Regions from separate parts of the Homo sapiens genome. Here region 2 is linked to region 1. The links are contacts of gene promoters, found by promoter capture Hi-C in human tissues and cell types (Jung and others, 2019). All regions are on one chromosome and are shown on one strand. The core of a region is centred on a gene start or on the middle of the fragment in contact, and the rest is flanking DNA. Distances in the headings are between cores, read along the strand shown.

Region 1 (3,607 bases), core at 166-2,665:
CTGCACTCCAGCCTGGGCGACAGAGCGACTCCGTCTCAAGAAAAAAAAAAAGTATACAGAGTAAATGTAACTTTTTACTTTTAGTCTAGGACTGAACAATACTAAGTTTTAAAAAATCTATAATATGTCATTTTTGTACATTATATTTTGGAAATGTACAAAATATTAGGAAAAGTGGTAATTTTGGCAAATGTAGGAGGCAGTACATCTTACAGTTAAAGAGGTCAAGAGAGCAACCACTTCGCAGTCAGAGAAACCAAGCCTCACCCCAGTTCCAATACCTCTTCAATGTGTCATCTTAGGAAAGTTACTCAATCACTATTGAGCCCCGTGACATCTCACATGTGAGGTACAGTGTTAAGCAGCATTTTATGGGCATTATTTACTAAAATTGTTATAAGATCCAAGTTATCATTCCCATCTCAAAGATGAAGAAACCAGGACTCAAAGCAATAAAGTGACCTGCTCAGTGCTGTGAAGCTAAGAAGTGGTGGGGCCCAGGAATGACTGATCAGCAGGACCCCGGGACCCCGCAAAGGCCTCTTGATGTCACTAAACCCAGCAAAAAACATCTAGTTCCAAAACGGGTCATTTTTCAGTGCTCCATTGTCTCCCTGAGTTTCCTCACCTGTAAAACGGGTGTAAGTGCTCAGAATCCCTATAAGAACCAAATGAGGTTGTAACATTTCCCACAATGCCTGGAATGTAGGAATTATTCTGCATCCCTAAGTTGCCACTTAAGAGATAAAAGAAATCAGCAAAAGGCTTTCAAAAATAAATGGTCCTTTGAAGTATGAAAATTCAAATCCAGGAAACTCACCAAGCATGGCCAAGGTGCGCATGATCATATACAGTTGGTCCACAGCTATACCTGGAAACAAAGTTAAAATCCATCGTGTGGAACATATTTGCAAGAAAGGACATTCGATTCTGAGTTATAATGATCATATAATTTTTAAAGTAATCACTTCTGGGGGATGAATAGCCGGGGTTTTCATACTTGCTCAATTCACACCCAAACCTGCAAAAGCACCGCGCACCCCCAGCTTCTAGAACGGCGCCCTCCATGCAGCTTCCTAAACGCCCTCCCCGAGCCCAGATCCCGTTCAGCCGTGGGAAGTCTCCGCCACGATCGGCCCCCGCCCGTGCCCCAGTCCCGCGCGGCCCACCAGGAGGCGGCTTCGGCGTGCGCCACGATTAGGGGTTCCTTCCTCCCGGTGAGGCTGTTGTACACCTGCACACCCGTCTCCCGGCCCGTGGGCTGCAGCCAGGCCCGCCCGCGCCCCCCGCTCGCCGCCCGGCCCGCAGGCCAGTGCCACCCAGCCCGCCCAAGGCCCAGCGCGGCCTGGAGCAGCGGGGGGCCCAGGCCTGGGCCGCGCGTAGTCCTCAACATGTCAGCGGCCAGCGCCTACGACTGGGCGGAGACGGGAGCCACGCCGGGTACGCTGCCGGTCGCTCAAGAGCAGCACGGCCCCGCCCCGCCCCGCCCACGCCCTTGGGGCCACGCCCACTCCCGGAAGCAGTCCTCAGGTAGCGCCTCCCTTTGGCCTGGCTCGAGTCGCCCGCGGCAAGGGTGGAGAACCAGGGCCCGAAGAGGTTGGGGCGGGGAAGGCCCGGGGTGGAGGGAGGAGGGCGGTGCCGCGCCGGGAGGCCGTGGGAAGAGGCGGTACCGTGCCGATCTCCTCTCCTTATTAGCCCAGGTCCTGCGAGGCGTCCGTGTGCGCGCGGTACCAGCCTGGAGCTGTGTCCGCCGCGCGGGAGGAGCGTTTACAGTGCAAGCTTCTGTTGCCGGGCCCTGGCCTGTTAGCGAAGCACGTGTGCATCCCAGCACAGCCCACGTCAGCACGCTAATACACAGTGTCCACCCCAGAACACACGTCAGCACCCCAATACAGTGTGCACCCCAATACAGTGTGCACCCCAAACACACATCTGCGCCCCAATACAGTGTGCACTGCAGCACACCGTTAGCATCCCAACACAGTGCACCCCGATACACAATGTGCAACCCAACACACAGTCTGCACCCCAAGAAGTGTGCACCCCAATACACAGTATGCACCCCAGCACACACATCAGCATCCCAATACAGTGTGCACCCCAATACAGTGTGCACCCCAGCACACACATCTGCACCCCAATAGTGTGCACTGCAGCACACCATCAGCATCCCAACACAGTGCACCCCGATACACAGTGTGCAACCCAGCATACAGTCTGCACCCCAATACACAGTATGCACCCTAGCACACACCACATCAGCATCCCAATACAGTGTGCACTCCAATACAGTGTGCACCCCAGCACACACCATGTCTGCACCCCAGTACAGTGTACACCCCAATACAGTGTGCACCCCTAATACACTGTGCACTCTAACACACACCATGTCTGCACCCCAGTACAGTGTGCACCCCAACACAGCACATGTGCATCCCAGCAAACACTGTCTGCATTCCAATGCAATGTGCACCTCAATAGAGTGTGCGCCCCCACACATCTACACCCCAATACAGTGTGCACCCCAATACACAGTGTGCAACCCAACACACACCATGTCTGCACTCCAATACACAGCATGCCTCCCCCACCATGATCCCGTATCTTGAGAACAAAAACATTCTGAAAGTTACTCACAATAGCTTGACAAACGTGCCTCTATTGGGCCAGGCGCAGTGGCTCACACCTGTAATCCCAGCACTTTGGGAGGCTGAGGCGGATGGATCACCTGAGGTCAGGAGTTCGAGACCAGCCTGACCAATATGGTGAAACCCCGTCTCTACTAAAAATACACAAATTAGCCGGGCGTGGTGGCGTGCATCTGTAGTCCCAGCTACTGGGGAGGCTGAGACAAGAGAATCGCTTGAACCCAGGAGGCAGAGCTCACAGTGAGCTGAGGTCACACCACTGCACTGCAGCCTGGGCAACAGAGGGAGACTCCGCCTGAAAAAAAAAAAAAGTGCCTCTATTGGTGTCTTGCAATACGATGTCTCAAAAAAAAGAAAAAGTCCCCTTTGCTTTTCCAGTTCTCAAAACAGGAGACGTTCCTCTGGTTTTTTGTTGTTGTTTTTAGTTTGCTTTGGTGTTTTATTAAAAAGCAAAGGTTTAAGTAGAGACAAACAAGTGTGTACCTAGAGTAGTTTCTCAATATCCTGGAGTCCAACTCTGCAATTCTGTTTCAAGCTAACTGTAGTCTAATGTAATCTATTGTCTAATTTAATAAGGTTAAAATGTTAGAATTAGGAGACCCTATAGCCTACATCAATGCTAACCACTCATGTTACCTAACTACTCTAAATTCTCCTGAATATTATCACTTCTTGCCTGCCTTATGTTATTTTGTAACTTTCCAGTGCTGTGTGTATATTTATCTCCCTGAGTATCTTAAATTGTACATTATTTTGAACTTCTCACTGTGCCCTGCACTAAATTCAGAAAAGGACTTGGGTTTTGTTTGTTTTGTTTTGCTGTGGCTGGAAAAAAAAAATTTAGAAGAAATAAAAGGGCTTGTTGAATGTTGATGAATTAATCCCTTACGAAAGGGATTAATTGTGCAGGTGGGAAGAAATCTGGGTAGTAAAATACCTGATAAAGCTGATTCAGATAT
Region 2 (3,417 bases), core at 877-3,376, 540 kb after region 1:
AGATTCCGCCTACCACCTGTTTTCTATAAACAAAGTTTCACTGGCACGTGCTGTACTTTTTCATTCACCCATTGTTAATGGCTGTGTTTGTACTACAGTGGCAGCAGTGGAGTTGTGATAGAAACTGTCTGGCTCACATACCTCAAATATTTACTCCTTGGCTTTTTATAGAAAGTTGGCTGACCCCCAGGTGAGATGTGCTTTCTTCCTTGGGGCCTCGACCTGGCCCTAACCTCTCCATTCCCTGTGCGTTCTGAGGCCCATGTTTGTTTTCTCAGTATTTTTGCCATGTAGGACTTCTGTCTTCCGTCTTGAAAACTGAAGTTTCTATCTGGTGTCATTTTTCTTCAGGCAGAGGAACACTTTAGTTTTTTGTAATTCAGGTGTGTTACTGACAAACATGATCTTGGATTTTGTTGTCTGAAAATTGCTGCCTTCGTTCCTGAAGATTTTTTTTTTTCCCATGGATACTGAACTCTGGGTAACAGATTTGTTGTTTCAGCATTTGAAGGATATTGCTCCACTGTCTTTTGGCCTTCACTGTATCTGTTGATTGTATCTGATGATGACCTCCATTATATTCTGATCAGCACAATTTCAGATAGTTGTTCCCCGTCCGCTTCCTAGATTTTTGCCTTTATTTTAGGTTTTTGGCATTTTGACGGTGATTATCTCGGGTGTGGTTTTCTGACTTCTCGAACTTGAAAATTTATGTCTTTTACCAAATGTGGGGAATTTGCGGGCATTATTTCTTCAAATATTTTGCTGCTTTACTGTTTCTACTCTGCCTTGGGGCTCCAGTTACACCCATGTAGACCTTTTGCTGGAGGTCCTGGATTTGCTCGTTGCTTTCTGACCTGGTCTCTGCTCTGTTCTTCAGGTTGAATGGCGTCTGCTGTGTCCTAAGTGTTCACTGTCTGCCTCTCTACTCTCTTGTTCGTCCCCGTGCAACAAGTTTTTAGTTTGAGAATTTTTTTCAGTTCTAGAATTTGTTTCGCTTAAAAAAAGTGTTTAGTTCTCTGCTAAGATTTTATATTTGTTCATTCACTACAAGAATATTTTTCTTTATATCCTTTAGCAATAATTAGAATAACTGCTTTAAGGTCCCATCTGCTGATTCTTTATTGTGAGGATGGGTTACGTCTTCATGATTCTTTTTATTTCTAGTGACTTTGAATTGTGTCCTGTTTACTGTGGGTTGTAGACTCTTGATCATGTTAGGTTTCCCTGAAGAGTATTGATTTGCTTGTTTGACAGGCAGTTAACTTGGTCAGGCTCAAATTGCCAACTCTCCCTTTGGCAGATGCTCAAATCTCAGTCCACTTATTTTAGACTCAGCTGATCTGAAGTTGGCCTTGCAAGTTCTGTTCTGCCGTCAGCCAGAGATTTGGGCAGAATTTAGAGACAGAATTCAGGGTCACACTCACCGTGGGTTTCCCCCAGCTTCCCAGCAACTCTGGTAGAACCAAACCCTGTGGATTTTTGTTGGAGTTTTAGCTGTTCCACATAACAAAGTTGGCTGCCATTAGCTTAATAGTTGAGAAAGCAGGAGGTGCCCTGCCCGTTCTTTTTTCCAAATGTCCATCCTTCCCCAGAATATACCTGATGCTAACTAAAAAGTGATTCAGGCAGGTCTCAATCGATAGAGGTTTACGTAGCTGCAGTTGAGGACGTGCCAGGTAACAGGAGCATTTGTGCTTTTTCCAAAGCTTTGAGAAGTTCAGTATTTAAAGGGGAAAGAACAAGCAGGAGGGGAAAAAAGGGAGGCTGGGGAGCAGTGAGGCAGATGCTTAAACATTGTTGTGAGCCTCCGATTGGCCTCAGTAAGCCTGCATTTTACACGGGAAAGGGGGAGTAGAGGAAAGTCAGTTGTGCGTTTTTCTCAGGGTTCTCTTTCACGGGAAGGGTGATTTCTGCTCTTGTCCTTGTCTGTACCTATGAAGATAAGCTGGTACTTGACATTGCCAGGGTGAGATACAATAGAACTCGGTTTTAGGGCTAGTTTTTAGTGGGGGACATATGTTCTGATAGATTTAGGGGCTCACAAGAAATCTCCTTGTGAGCACTTTGTGAGGAAGGCCATCTGGGGAGCTATGTGGCCTTCTGTAGTTGTGGGCACCTGGCGTATGGATGAGGCCATGACACAGGGTTGTGGAATGACAGCTCTCTGTTCGGCAACAAAAGGCAGACAGTGTTGCACAGTTCAGTTCCCAAGCTTCACTTTCCCACTGGCATAGTGAGTTTGGGTCCCAAGATTCTGTTATCTTTCATGCTACTTTTGAGTGCCTCTAGGCAGTTACTTTCTATATGTTTTTTAAAGTTTCGATGTTATTTGCAGGCGAGTCAGTTTGATAGGAGTAATTTGGCTATAGCCAGATTTATAGAACCCATTTCCTTTTAGTTTTTCAAATCACAGTTCTTCCTTTCATCAGCTGTAGAGGGCTCCTTGCAAGCATGCTTTGTCTAGGCTTTCAGTTCAAAACAATAGAAACTGCAATCTGCCTTCCATGCCCTTGTGCCATTTGCTGCATTAGTAGCGGCACACTGTCATTTGTGTTGTGAGGTTGTGATAGCTGGAATGTGCCCAGTTTGCCTAGAGCAGCTTTCTCAGGTATGCGTGCATTCGGCGCTTGTGCACACGCTGCCACCACGTGCGTGATGCTGGCTGGCTGCTGATAGAGCCTGTCCTGGTGGAGCTTATAGTCTGGTGAGGGAGACAGATAATTGAAAATTGTATAAATAGTTAGAAAGCTACAATTGCAGACCTTCTTACGAAAGAAATCATATCAGGCACCAAGAGCAAACTTCAGGGGAAGATCACTGAGCACTGAGGGGTAAATGGGAGGTAACCAGGCAAAAAACGAGAGGAGGTTTTTCCTCACACCAGCACTTCGTCAATTGTCTGACACTGAGTTTCCAGTGGTTCAGTTCTATTCGGACATTTGTCTCCCACGAGACTGCCACATTTCAAACCCAGCTGCAAATGGGGTGCCCAAGCTATATACTCCTACCTGACTGAGTACAGATTTGAGGGTTCCCATGACTCCCTTCAGGTTTGATAATTTGCTGGAATGACCCATGTATGTAACTCAGGAGAGTGCTTGACTTCCTGGTACCAGTTTATTATGAAGGATGCAACTCAGAATGAGATGGATAGAAGAAAGATGTAGGGTAAGGGATGGGAGCAGAGTTTCTAGGCCCTCTGGGTGCAGCACCTCCGTGCTTTCAGCAACCCAAAATCTCTCCAAGCCCTGTCCTTGGTGGTTTCTAATGTAGGCTCTGTTAGGTAGACATGCATGATTGACTAGATCACTGGACATTGCTGAGTGGCATGATCTCCAGCCCCTTGTCCTCCCTTTAGGTTGCTGGTTGGGGCTGAAAGTTCCTGTGATCATGGTGGTCTTTGTGACACCTAGC

The links. The method cuts DNA at HindIII sites, captures the fragments that hold promoters and counts their contacts. A contact is called where the count stands out against the background at its distance.
Region 2: a contact is called between a fragment that was not itself captured here and the fragment with the promoter of CARS2 in region 1, in 1 of the 25 tissues and cell types used here (dorsolateral prefrontal cortex).

What each region holds. Positions count from the first base shown.
Region 1 is chr13:110,704,701-110,708,307 of GRCh38, forward strand. CARS2 (cysteinyl-tRNA synthetase 2, mitochondrial) reads right to left here and starts at 1,416. Exons shown (of 15, transcript NM_024537.4): 1 at 1,170-1,416; 2 at 821-871. The coding sequence starts at 1,393. RefSeq lists a silencer at 1,224-1,783 and enhancers at 1,834-2,213, 2,224-2,343. The HindIII fragment of the contact is 14,015 bases long and covers 1-3,607 here.
Region 2 is chr13:111,247,697-111,251,113 of GRCh38, forward strand. The region is part of intron 8 of ARHGEF7 (Rho guanine nucleotide exchange factor 7); the gene reads left to right. Among named protein-coding and RNA genes, the nearest start is that of TEX29, 71 kb to the right of the region's middle. The HindIII fragment of the contact is 4,062 bases long and covers 96-3,417 here.